Linked DNA regions of Homo sapiens: region 1 is linked to region 2. Evidence: promoter capture Hi-C in human tissues and cell types (Jung and others, 2019). All regions are on one chromosome and are shown on one strand. Each heading gives the region's core, a stretch centred on a gene start or on the middle of the fragment in contact. The rest is flanking DNA. Distances are from core to core; before and after follow the strand shown.

The links. The method cuts DNA at HindIII sites, captures the fragments that hold promoters and counts their contacts. A contact is called where the count stands out against the background at its distance.
Region 1: a contact is called between a fragment that was not itself captured here and the fragment with the promoter of ANXA2 in region 2, in 1 of the 25 tissues and cell types used here (H1 embryonic stem cells).

What each region holds. Positions count from the first base shown.
Region 1 is chr15:59,879,914-59,886,318 of GRCh38, forward strand. No RefSeq gene overlaps it. Among named protein-coding and RNA genes, the nearest start is that of FOXB1, 120 kb to the right of the region's middle. The HindIII fragment of the contact is 5,189 bases long and covers 1-4,390 here.
Region 2 is chr15:60,395,915-60,403,249 of GRCh38, forward strand. It overlaps ANXA2 (annexin A2), which reads right to left and starts at 2,072. Exons shown (of 13, transcript NM_004039.3): 1 at 2,029-2,072. RefSeq lists enhancers at 418-1,009, 1,010-1,601, 1,095-1,144, 1,205-1,254, 1,275-1,464 and silencers at 1,625-1,764, 1,835-2,374, 2,495-2,804. The HindIII fragment of the contact is 12,062 bases long and covers 1,123-7,335 here.

The sequences.
Region 1 (6,405 bases), core at 546-3,045, 520 kb before region 2:
TTGCATCAGGCTTTTGGCCCTTCTTTACTGCCAATAACTTGCACTGGATGTCAAGTATCACCTGGGAGGGATACTAATTTAAACCAGGGTTGTAAACTGCAGAACCCAGGCAGGCAACACAAGTGACTGGAAAGAGCAGGCATAACACAACTGTGAGTGTGGAACTGGGTGAGCTGGAGGCAGTAGTTCTTCATCTTCAGCCAAGTGTTGCTGGGTAGAAATGCTTGTTTGCATTGCTGGATCATCCAATTTTTTTAAGAGAAGAGAGAAATTGGATTTTATTGTGGATGAAATTTCCAAATTGTTGAATATTGGCTCAATTTTTTTAAAACATGGTATAGGCAAATAAAACTTGGCTGCTTAACAGATCTAGCCCTTGGAATGCCAGATGTGATCCCTGCTTTAAACACATTTACACCTCCGCTCAAATGGGAAGTCACCTGATTGATTAGAAATGTTGGTAGGGAGGTCAAGAGTGTTGCAGAGACAGCATGAGATCTGCCTATAATTGGATGGGCCAACTGGAGGAAAATCCAACCTGCATGTTGAGTCAATCCCAGGATTTGATGTAAGGGAACAAGTCCAAAGGCCTCTTATTCTAAAATTGGGGGGATGAGGGTAATTAGTGCCAAAACAGGTCAAAAACTAGGAGATGTGGATAAAGAGGCTAAGTAGGTGAATTGTGAGTGCAGATTGCTCAAGGTCTAAACCAGGGATGCTAAATTGGATTCCTCGCACCTGCCAAGTCCAATTGACTAGGCTGATAGCTGTCAGGAAGGCCGGGAGGCTGAAAGGAAAGCATACTAAGGATAGGGGAGTCTTGAGTGCAGTTATCTTGCCAACCCTGGTCTGAAAAAGCCCAAGATTTGAGGGACTACCATACATTTAGCTCTCTTCCAAGCAGGCAGGGGTTCCAGGTCTGCGTACAAGACAGCAACATAAACACTGGCCTGCTTTGTATCTTTAAGTCATGTTTATAGAGATTCTATAGGCTACATCAGAATTGGAATTTACATCATGCATTTGGAAACAACAAAGAACATTTATCATACTGGAAGAAAGAGTTTAAAATACAGATTCTAAACTGAATGACTCAGTATTAAAAGAAAAATATTAAAAGATATAAAATTTTTCTTTTATATCACTTTAATACATATAAGTGATAACATATATGAGAATCTATCTGCCCACACTTGGCCTTTAATATTTAAATATTAGGGCCAGGCATCGTGGCTCACGCCTGTAATCCCAGCACTTTGGGAGGCTGAAGTGGGTGGATCACAGGGTCAGGAGTTCGAGACCAGCCTGGCCAATATGGTGAAATCCTGTCTCTACTAAAAAAAATACAAAGAATTAGCCAGGCATGGTGGTGGGCGCTTGTAATCCCAGTTACATTGGAGGCTGAGACAGGAGAATCGCTTGAACCTGGGAGGCGGAGGTTGCAGTGAGCTGAGATCACGCCACTGCACTCCATCCTGGGTGACAGGGCGAGACTCTGTCTCAAAAAAAAAAAAATTAAATATTAGGATTACATGAGCCTTGTTTCCACTGTTTGAAAATCCACCGAAGTGTATGCAGTGGTATGCTACTCAAATTCCCCTTCAGGACCTAGCAATTCACTTTCCCAGCTGCTGGGAGTGTTGGCTACTGATGGCTCACAGCTGAGTCCTCTCCAGAAACTGTCATCAGCCACAGGCTCCTTGGGGCAGCTGCCATTCAAAGGTGGTCAAAGGAGGCTATAACCTCCTTACCTCAATTGGGACAATGCTGAAGGACCATCCATGTTCCAAAGCTCCCAAAATATCACTACATGGCAGTTTACCTTTCTCCTTTGCCCGATTCTGCCTCCTTCATTCCCTGCTCTGTACATAAATCTCAGAGTCTCAGAATCTGTTTCCCGGGAAACTGACCTACAACAAGGACCTAATTGAAATGTAGGCATATAATAGAATACCAAAGATTCTGTATGTCAGGCTAATTTTAAATGACTTTCACAATGATGAAATAAAATTGCAGATTTAGGGAAGCAAGAAATAAATTATGTGAAGTTTAATGAAAACATTTCCATTTGTCAATAGCATTTAGCTTTACCTATGAGTAGGGCATGTATGTCATTTTGATTTGTCTAGGATGCCGCCCTGTTTCTTTGGGGGACTTCTCTGCACTCCAGTTATCAGTGCTGAAGAGCAAGTGCCAATTGTGATGCCCAGCTTTCTGAAGACAGGAGTAGGCAAGTGAGCATGGTCTGGCCATACCCTGTCTATTCAGATTAGGCCAAGAGAAGGGCATGTGACCAAGACTGAGCTAATTAGAGTCATTTCATGAGATTTAATAGAACACACCAAGAAAGACAGACTTTTTTTTCCCCTCTTACATCATGGGCTATGATAATGTAAGCCTGGAGTGCCTAGGTAACTGTGGACCTCAATGCGCATCTACAGTGGAAGAGAGTAAGGCCACCCCATCGGGAGAAGCAGAGCCAAGAGATAAAGAAAAAGATGGCAATGCTGTTTATGCCCTTGGGTCCTACTGTGTTTGTAGTCAAAACCAAACTTGGACATCTCAGTTACATGAACCACAACCATTTTTCCATTCTGCATAAGCTATGTTGAGTTGAGACATACATCACTTGAAACTGCAAGACTCCTGACTCTTTCACTGCACTAATCGTTCAGTCAGAGACAGATTAAAACAAAGATAAGGCCAGGCGCGGTGGCTCACGCCTGTAATCCCAGCCCTTTGGGAGGCCGAGGCGGGCGGATCACGAGGTCAGGAAATGGAGAGCATCCTGGCTAACATGGTGAAACCCCGTCTCCACTAAAAATACAAAAAAGAAAATTAGCCAGGCGTGGTGGCAGGCGCCTGTAGTCCCAGAGTCCTAGCTACTTGGGAGGCTGAGGCAGGAGAATGGCGTGAACCTGGGAGGCGGAGCTTGCAGTAGCCGAGACTGTGCCACTGCACTCCAACCTGGGCGACAGAGCGAGACTCTGTCTCAAAAAATAAACAAACAAACAAACAAACAAAAAACAAAGATAAATAATGACCCTATGGGATAATAGCAAAACAGAGGTCCCTAGCATCAGGAGCCAAGAGCTCTACTAAATTTCCACAAAGTAATGCATCCATGAAACAGACAGGATGCATTTTGGGGGAACTTCTTTGTCAAAAAAAAAAAAAAAAAAAACAAATCTAGAAGCAGAATTAATATAGGCAGAATATAGGATAGATAGAATAGTGACAGAAATAAAATGGGGTTTGCAATGTAAAAAAAATCAACTGATGACTCCCGAAAATAAAAACAAATGGGAAAAAAAAATTGCACCTGGTATTCTTGGAGGAGAGGAAACAGTGTTGAGTTAAGGTCAGGAGAGATGGAGGAGGGAGGCCTGATCTGGGCTCAGGCAGAGAAGTCTGATGGTGGGGAGGCCGTGTGGGGCCTGGCAGTCTGGAGGAAGGGATTGGCTGACTCACATTAGTGCAGGGGGCTTCCAGGTCAAGGAGGAAGCAGGTGATTGGTTTACCCACATCCCACAATTCCTAAGCAGCGGCTGATTAGCTGTGAAGCTAACAAAGATTAAGCTTTGAGGGCCCTCACTTGCAAAATCCCTTCCAAGATCCTGTGAGGGGCTCTTGCAATTTGTTCCCATGGTCATATGTGCTTGTAACATTTGCATAACAAGTGGTTAAGTCACTTACTGTTTCTAACCTAATTTTCCCTGTATCCTACTGCCCCTCATGATGTGTGGTGTTAAAGTGGTCACGAGCATCTTGGGGGATCCAGCTAAAAGGAAGTTGATTTGGAGATCCATTTAAGTTGGGTTCTGTGGATCATATTAATGTAGTTCATGGTCTCTTCTATGTAGTTAAGATATTGCTTGCCATCCTGGTATAGGGTTGTCTTCCAGGAATGCTACTACCCAGGAATGCTAATGCTACTGTTACTCACTTTGCTGGCTTATAAAGATGCAGAGCAAGAGATGCTAGAGCAAGGCCAGGCACAGTGGCTCACGCCTGTAATCCCAGCAGTTTGGGAGGCTGAGGCGAGTGGATCACTTGAGGTCAGGAGTTTGAGACCAGCCTGGCCAACATGGTGAAACCCCATTTCTACTAGAAATACAAAAATTAGCCAGGCTTGGTGGCGTGCACCCATAATCCCAGCTGCTCGGGAGGCTGAGGCAGGAGAATCGCTTGAGCCCAGGAAGCGGAGGTTGCAGTGAGCCAAGATCAAGCCACTGCACTCCAGCCTGGGTGACCGGGCAAGACTCTGTCTCAAATAAATAAATAAATAAATAAATAAATAAATACAATACTAAAAATCTATGTGATGTTATCAATTATAATTTATAAAGATAAAAAAATTCAAAATAGACAATAAGTGAAATTCTTTCTACCAACCATATTAAAGACTGAATTATCTCTGTGGTTTCTATATAGAAAATATTACAAAATTGTCACTTGAGAAGGCAATGAAAATGTATGCAGCTGGCAAATATTGGGGAGAAAATATAGAAACACATGAAGCACACAGTGATGAGCTTAATCAATGTGACGCTTGTGGTTTTTGTTGGTATTTAACATTTTGTTGCTTATTTTTATTTATATTGTTATTCTAAATAAATACAGTTGATCCTTGAAAAACACAGACTTGAATTGTGCAGGCCACTTATATGTGGAGCGTTTTTCAATGAATGTATTGGAAAATTTTTTGGAGACTTGAGACAATTTGAAAAAACTCACAGATGAACAACTACTCCTGAGACAGCAGATCAACCTCTCCTCTCCCTCCTCCTCAGCCTACTCAACAAGAAGACAGTGATGATGAAGCCCTTTATGATGATCATAATCCACTTTTATTTAATGAATAGTAAATACATTTTCTCCTCCTTATGATTTTCTTAACGTTTTCTTTTCTCTAAATTACTTTATTATAAGAATACAGTATATAATACATATAAACATACAAAATACATGTTAATTGACTGTTTATGTTATCGGTAAGGTTCCAGTCAAGAATAAGCCATTAGTAGTTAATTTTCTGGGGAGTCAAAAGTTATACATGGATTTTTTGTATTACACAGGGGTCGACACTGTTTGAGGGTTAGCTGTATATACCCACTCATGCCTAATTTTGTGTCTGTAGTTTTGTGTTTTTTCACAGGGCCCTTCCCCTTCCCCACCCCACCCCACCCAAGAATGTGTAAGCTTTCTTCAAGCCCCACAAAATCTGCCCCTGCGGTTGGACTTCCTCCACTGGACAAGGGACAAAGGTCAGAGGGGAAGACATCTTGAACCAGCCCTCCTAGCCCCACCCAGCGACCTTGACAAGGATCTAAATTTTTGTAATCTGCATTAATTATCAGTTGATGAAGTTTTATATTATTATTATTTAGACGGAATCTCACTCTGTGACCCAGTCTGGAGTGCAGTGGCAAAATCTCAGCTCACTGCAACCTCTACCTCCTGGGTTCAAGCAATTCTCGTGCCTCAGTCATCCTAGTAGCTAGGATTACAGCTGTGTGTCACTACGCTTGGCTAATTTTTTTATTTTTAGTAGAGGTGGAGTTTCACCACATTGGCCAGGCTGGTCTCGAACTCCTGACCTCAAGCAATCCACCCACCCAAAATGTAGGCATTACAGGTGTGAGCCACCGCACCTGGCCAGTTGATGAGTCTTCATGCTAGTTTGCTTCCTGAAATATCTTTCTACGTGTTTGCTGAAATCTAACTGGCGCCTGGGATTACTTTAGCAGGGCTGAGTCTTATTTTTCTCCAATTCAGCTTAAACTGCAAATGCTTCATTTAGTTAAACCTTCAGGATAAATTAGCTTCGTTTTTCCCTGGTCTTGCAGTATGGGGCAGGGGAGGACTAGGGGGAGGGGAACAGAAGGATCTGGATAGGGAAGAGGAAGAGATTGACAAGGGAGCAGGAAGGAGCAGGAACAAGAATGAGTACCCTCCCCACCTATGAGATATGGAAGGAGGCAGAAAAGCAAAGTGTGAGAACAGAGAGCAGCCTCCCAGGTGAGCAGCTCTTACTCGTTTTCCTCCAGCAGACGTGCCAAACAGTGGCTGTGCACCGAAGGTTGCCGGCAAGCCGCTACCAGTCCGGACAGCTCATGCTGCATGATTTATGAAGTGTTTTTGAGCCCAGCCCCATATCCTATAAAGAAGGCTCATTCCCTGGGGATTCGTTAATCAAGGAGCACTGTACAAACACCACTTCCTGTGGGATGTTAATAGTGTCTGTAAGCAGGAGAGGGAGTGAGTGAGAGCAGGGAATCATTGTTTAGCAGAGAGAGAAATTAGCTCACAGCTGAAAAAGAGAACTCGCCTTGATGTAGAAAAGATTCCTTTGTTAACAAGTGAACAATAAGCAACTTATGTAAGCGTTTTGAAATTTGAAAA
Region 2 (7,335 bases), core at 822-3,321:
TAATCGACAGACTTGGAAGAAGGGAAGAAATTACTAAGCAGGACTGTGTTAACACTCCTGGCCCTTGCCCATCAAGGGCACCTCTGCTGCCCCAGTCTTACCAAAAATCTTCCTTAATATTGCCTGAATATTGCTGCTTTACATTCTATAAATTATAGATCTGTTTAGGTGAACGAGGGTTTTTTATTATTATTATGTATTTATTTTTTGAGACTGGGTCTTGCTATGTTGCTCACATTGGCCTTGGACTCAAGAGATCCACTAGCTTGAGCAGCTGGGACTACAGGCCCACGACCACGCCCAGTATCGTTGTTTTTTAAATAACAAGACTCCTCTCGGTTGCTGAGGCTCTTAGGACCACCAACCATTCCTAACTTAATGAATATCGATTCAATCTGCTAGTCTCTAGCTGGATGCAGGTCCGCCGAAATGGGAAGGAGGAAGGAATGCAGCGTAACTGGACCGGCCTGGATGGCTGTTGTAATGCGTCACGGAAGAGCCAGAAGAGCGTCTCTAAGGAGGTGGAAGGTGGAAAAAAGAAAGTGGAACAGGGGCAAAGACATAATTTTCCAATTAAAATAATTTACTCAGTGTCAACCTTAAAGCTAAAAAAAGTTCCAGAAAAATATTTCAGTGATTTAGTCTTCCTACACACACATTGCCCCTCACTACCCTCCACCTCCCCACCACCAATCCCATAATCAGGCAGTGCATGTTAAAAAGGTCTTTCAGGGCTAGCCTGGGAACGTCAGCACCTTCTGCAACACTGTTTCAGTGGGAAAGTGCATTCTGCATTCCAAGTCACCAAGTTCCAGACAGGCACAGTAGCACACACGTGTGAACAGAATCCATCAGTACAGTCTGGGGCCCAGGCCTTTGCACACCAACAACTTAAGGTTCTTGGTAATGGCCCAGCGTGCACCCATGAGGCCACTGCTCTTTTACACACGCACTCAGAACACCCACAGCTTTAAAACGGCAATCTTACTACAAAAATGACACTTTGCATTTGCACAGCACTTTGTTTTTTGTGTACTTTACACATTTATTACCTAATGACTGTGTTTTTTGAAATCTCCAATAACTCTGGGTGGTGGTAAGAATAGGCATCCTTAAGCCACCTTCCCAGATGAGGAAACTTATCTGTGTTCCCCTCCTTCTTCTCAACAGCCGGCTGATGGAACCCAAGCCCTCCACACCAGCAGTGGGGCCAGCTGCACAGAGCGGCCAGAAGGGAGAGGCCCCGGGGCCACGCCCTTCTCTCTACTCTCAGTTCCTGACTCATTGTCACATCATGGCGAGTAACAGGACAACCCTCCCCACAGAATCATGGGGGACACTACCTTCCTGAGGCCAATGTGTTCAACCAAGCGGGAAACTCTCCGGGTAGAGTGAAATCCGAAGTTGCTATGCTACAAGATAACCTAGAGCAAGGGGAATAACTGACGTTTTAATGTCTTCTTTTATGGGGGGCTGAGGGGTGCCTACTCACACTCCCCCCTCTCGTCTTCCCCCGCTACTTCCCTCCTGCTGGTCGGTTCAACTCCACAAGCGCGCGTTTGTTTCGAGTACAGTAACTTAGAGCAGATGGGGGGCACTTTCTAGAGGGCAGTGGAAAGCCCACTTGCTACTGCTGCGCCGGGGACCTGCGGCTCCCTGGGCGGCCACGCCCTGCCTCGGCGGCGCCTGGCGCGTCTGGAATGCGGGGCCTCCCTCCGCCCCTCTCCCCACGCCGCCTCGCCCCGCTCCCGCTAGGGCTTCTTAGAGAAGCCCGACCCCCCACCACCTCTGCCCTGCACCCTCCCGGCCCGAGGGCCGGTGGCCCCTCACCCCTGCCCCAAACACCTTGTCCCTGAGCCCCCTCCCCAAAGACTCTCCAGTGCCGGCCGTCCCTTCAGCCCCCTGCCCCCGACGGCCTCCGGGGCCAGTTGCCGGGGCCTCCCTGCCAGGCCGTACCCTTCTTCCCAGCGTCTCCACACCCCGCTAGCTGGCGGCCCATCGCGGGCGGGCAGGGCGCGCCCCGCTTACCTGGGCCGTGCGCCGAGAGCTGAGAGCGTCCCCAAATGCTGAGCAGAGCCGGCTGGCCTGGGTGGGGCTTTTATACCCGCCACATCCTCCCTAGGCGAGGCGAGGCCCGCCCCGCCCCGCCCCGCCTCCCCCTTACACGGCCCGCTCCCACCCCAAGTCAGGGGTGACTCACCCCGGCCCGCCGGCCCGCAGGGACCGCGCCCTGGAACGCTCCCGAGCCGCGCCACGCGGGAGCGGCCCCAGCGCCCCTGGCCCTGCCCTCCGAGAAAGCCCGGCCGAGGCTGCCCCGAGGCCCACAGGGACCCCGTTTCTTCCTCCTTTCCTCATTTTACTTCTTAAGTGCCACGTCGAGCTCTCAGCCTCGGCTTGGGTTAATAAATTAACAAGACTTTAGTAGTAGACTCTGGGCTTGATTAAGTGTTTTTTTTTTTTTTTTTTTTTTTTTGGCGTTAATGCAATGGAGGAAAGAATTGTTCCAAGAAACATAAATCTGGACTCCCCTGAGCTGGGGCTGTTGGCATCCAGCGCCCCATTACCGTCTGCAAACATGTCAGCTTAACCTCTGGCCGCCAGTTCCCGGGGGGCGCCCGGGGAGGGAGGGAGATTCGCCCTGTGCTGCAAAGCCTGGCCCGCCCCGGCCTCCGAGGGCCAGGAAGCCCCGAGCCTGGGCTGGGAGGCCAAAGCCGGGAGCCAGGATCCCACCTCAGTCCCGCCCAGGGTGGCGCCCCTGTCCCTAGCACGGCTGTGCTCCGCTTCTCTCCGCGCCTGGGGCATCTCTGCGCGGCCTCGTAGCAGGCAGTCCTGAGCGGGGTGGGGCCCATAGCTTTGAACCCGGAGTTTCGTGTGTGTGTGTGTGTGTGTGTGTGTGTGTGTGTGTGTGTGTGTGTGTGTGTTTCGAACCCGGAGTTTCAACAAAGAACTTTCCTCTCCTTCTTTCATGACTGCTGGGGTGTGTGTGTGCGTGTGTGGTGTGTGTGTGTGTGTGTGTGTGTTTCTTGCAGCCGTTTAGCCAACTCCCTTGCTCGGTGTTGCTGTTACTCGCTTTTCTTCCGAGAGAGAGAGAGAGAGAGAGAGAGAGAGAGTTTCTTGCAGCACAGAGAGAGAGAGAGAGAGTGAGATAGAGAGTTTCTTGCAGCCAGTTAGCCAACTCCCTTGCTCGGTTTTGCTGTTTCTCACTTTTCTTCCGTGTGTGTGTGTGTGTGTGTGTGTTTCTTGCAGCCGTTTAGCCAACTCTCTTGCTCGGTTTTGCTGTTTCTCGCTTTTCTTCCGTGTGTGTGTGTGTGTGTGTGTGTGTGTGTGTGTTTCTTGCAGCCGTTTAGCCAACTCCCTTGCTCGGTTTTGCTGCTTCTCGCTTTTCTTCCAAGAGTCACGTTGGCAACGTGCAGGCAGACACCTATTTGTTGTATGTGAGACGACGCAAATACTGTATTCGAACCTCAAACTAACAGGAAAGCGACGCTGAGAATCCCGAGGATCTCTGGCTGCGTTTTTTAAACCCCTCCTTGCACACTACTTCCTGCAGCTCTTTTTCCTGGTTTTGATGATTCTGTGTTTCAATCTCCCATTTATCTTAACATCCATTTTTACTTTCCATTTGAGCGTCAATTCACTCCTGGGAATCAGAGAATGATAGCAAGGCCAACAGACATTCAGTGCTCTGCCCACTCGCATAGAGTGACACAGGCAAAGTCGGCCACAGCTGAGGTCTTTTAACCCGCCCAAAGCTTTCTGTTACCCAGCGCTTTCACGAGGAATTATACGCGATGGGCCCTACCACAGAGCCAAATAGAAAATCAAGCAACACTTTGGGTACAATTGCTGATTTACATTTATAGCTCTTCAATTTAGCCTGAAAGCTTCAAAGTCAGAAACAATGTTTATCTGCTTACTTTGTGTGAACATTTTGGAAGGTTAGGGGAACACAGGCAGACAGTAATATTGGGCACGATTCAGCCTCCCTTCTGTGTATCTCAAGATAGGTTCCACAGTCTCTTACTCCTAATCGTGCTGTGATAGGCCCTTTACAGAAGATAAAATTTAATTCAAATCATGTGGAATATATAAAAGCCATCAAATGTCCAAAAGAGTTTTGTGCTCATCTTGGGCATGCCACAAATTCTAACTTCTATAGATTTGTACAATCACCAGTCTTTGCATCATGCTAAAGAAATGTGCACTGATGTTATCATAAAAATGAAGCTATTAGAAGTCATAGTTTGCTATTTCTGAGGAATGTGAGGCCAGTTCTTCCAGTATAAAAGATCTTTTATTAGTCAGAAGACTCTATTTTCCCCCCTGGTTGAGGAGAATGTTTACATCAGCCCTCAGATTGTCTGCTGTTGTCCATATTGCTCTCTAAGTGCTTGACTTTGTTTTGTTCACACTTCATCTGCTGCACTCAACACCTACTAGCGCCTAGCTAGCAATGATAGGCACTCACTAAATGTGATAGAATGATAAAATACAATTATTCACTGAATAATAGAATGTTAAAGCAGGGAGGGACCCTAGAGATTAAATTGCCCTATCCTTGATTTTTACTATTATTATTCTTATATCTTTTAGTTGAGATCTCACACTGTCACCCAGGCTGGAACGCATGGCATGATTAGGGCTCACCGCAGCCTTGACTGCGGAGGCTCAAGAAATCCTCTCCTCTCAGCCTCTTGAGTAGCTGGGACCACAGGCCCACGCCACCAAGCCTGGCTAATTTTTCTATTATTTGTAGAGACGACAAAGTCTTGCTATGCTGCTCAGGCTGGTCCCGAACTTCTGGGCTCAAGTGATCTGCCTACCTTAGCCTCCCAAAGTTCTAGGATTACAGGCGTGAATTACTATACCCGGCTCTTGATTTTTACATATGAAGAAATTGGAGTCCAAATAAAATCTCCTGCCCAGTCCAGGGATTAAATAATGCACCCAAGGCCCTCGTATCAGTTACCTTTGCAGTATAACAAATTATCCCCATAAACTTAGTGGTTAAACATAACCATTTACTTGCTTGTAATTCTGCAATTTAAGCAGGACACCCAGTGGGGACAGCTTGGTGCTCCTCCACAGCATGTTGGGTTGGGTAGCTTAGTTGGGGTTGGAAGATTGAAAGCAGCTTCATTCGTCTGGCGCCTGAGCTGGGATTGCTAGAATGACAAAGAGCAGGCTGGGCCTTTCTCTTCCTTGGTCTTACATCCTCCAGGTTCTCCTCTTTTGCTACACCACGGTAGTCATGGCAGCCAGCCTTCTAGAAGCAAAAGCTGAAGCTGCCAGGCCTCTTGGCTCACAGGCTGTGCAAAAACAAGCAATAGGCTGGATTTGCCCTATGGGCTGTAGTTTGCTGATCCTTGTTTTAATCCATTGCCCTACTCAAGTTTTTGGTTTTGCCCTCTGATATCTAGGCTCCTCCCTTTAAGATGTATTTCCTTTTCTTAAGAATGGCCCAGGCCAGGCATGGTGGCTCACGCCTGTAATCCCAGCACTTTGGGAGGCTGAGGAGGGCAGGTCATGAGGTCAGGAGATCAAGACCAGCCTGACCAACATGGTGAAACCTCATTTCTACTAAAAATACAAAAAATTAAGCTGGGCGTGGTGGCGGGCGCCTGTAGTCCCAGCTACTCGGGAGGCTGAGCAGCAGGAGAATGGCTTGAACCCAGGAGGGGGAGGTTGCAGTGAGCTGAGATCGCACCACTGCACTCCAGCATGGGTGACAGAGCGAGACTCCGTCTCAAGAAAAAAAAAAAAAAAAAGAATGGCCCATATTTGTAGCTGAGCAGTTCTCTCAGTCTGCTTCATTCATGCCAGGAGAAACTGAAAGGTCTAGAAACTTCTTTTCATTTTGCACTTTTTCTGGTTTAAGCTGGCAGTTGTTTCATTAATACAAGTATCTTAAAAACCATGTAGATTTTCCATATCTTATTAAGGTTCACACCATGCTCCAAGATTTATATACAATTTTCTCAAAAACTTTATTTATATAAATCTTGCTGAGGTTTAATTCCATGTTCCAAGATTCACATTCATTTTTTTTTTTTTAAATAGATCTCTCTCTACTTTACATGTCAGGCTGCAGTGGGACAATGCACTTAAGATTCTTAGAAGCCCTGAGATCGTCTTCGAAGTACCACATTAAATCTTTCTTGGAGTCTTTAAAAAGAAGTTTTTGCCGGGCGTGGTGGCTCACACCTGTAATCCCAGCACTTCGGAAGGCCAAGGCGGGTGGATCACAAGGTCAAGAGATTCAGACCATCCTGGCCAACATGGTGAAACCCTGTCTCTACTAAAAATACAAAAATTAGCTGGGCTTGGTAGCGCGTGCCTGTAATCTCAGCTACTCAGAAGGCTGAGGGAGGAGAATCGCTTGAACCTGGGAGGCGGAGGTTGCAGTGAGCCAGGATTATGCCACTGCATTCCAGCCTGGCAACAGAGTGAGACTCCGTCTCAAAAAAAAAAAAAAAGATTAAAAAATGTATAAAGAATGTCTGGTATATTGTAGGTGATGAAAAAAGCCATAGTTATTTCATTGGCTTTTTTAGTCTTTGCAGCAGCTGGCCTTGCTGAACGCATAGTAAGACCTCAATAAATCCTTGTTGAATTCACGTGTCATGACCCAAACCACACAGAGTACTCTTGGTATGGACAAACCACAATGTCTATTTTGTTTGGAGGCATTTCCAGGGAAAAATCTGCAGTGACTTCAATGTCTCTTTCTCAGCTGTAACAGACATTTTTGACCTCAGTTCATTCTCTGAGACAGCCAGAATTCTCTTTCTGAGACATAATTCTGATTATATGACCCCTCTCCAGAAACTCTTCCCAGCAGGGCTCTGACCTACCTGGGCAGCCTCATTCCCCCACATCTTCACTCTTCACCGCTCCATGTGCCACTGCTGGACAGGCCAGGCTCATTCATGCTTTGTACCTTCCTCCATCCTGTTTTCCTGCTGGAATGCCCTTTCCTGCTTTCCTCAGTGGTGAACTTTGCCTCATCCATCAAGCCTCAGAGTAAATATTATTTTCTACTGCAGAGCAAAGGCTTTCCCAAGCCCTTCAGGCAGATTTGACTACTTCTCTTGGCATTTTAAAAATATACCTCTCCTCTTGCAATTGTCACCTCGCATTGTTATTTTTTAATTTGTTGGTCTCAGCAACTAGGCAGGAGCTTCTTGGGGACAGGCATTTGGATGTTTCCTCTTTGCATTGACATTATCTTACCCAGTACCTGTTACTATCAGATTTTTCTCCATAAACGCATTACCTTGCCTTTGTTCATACTTAAACTCACCTGGCAAAAATTAAAATGTATAGTATTCAGTG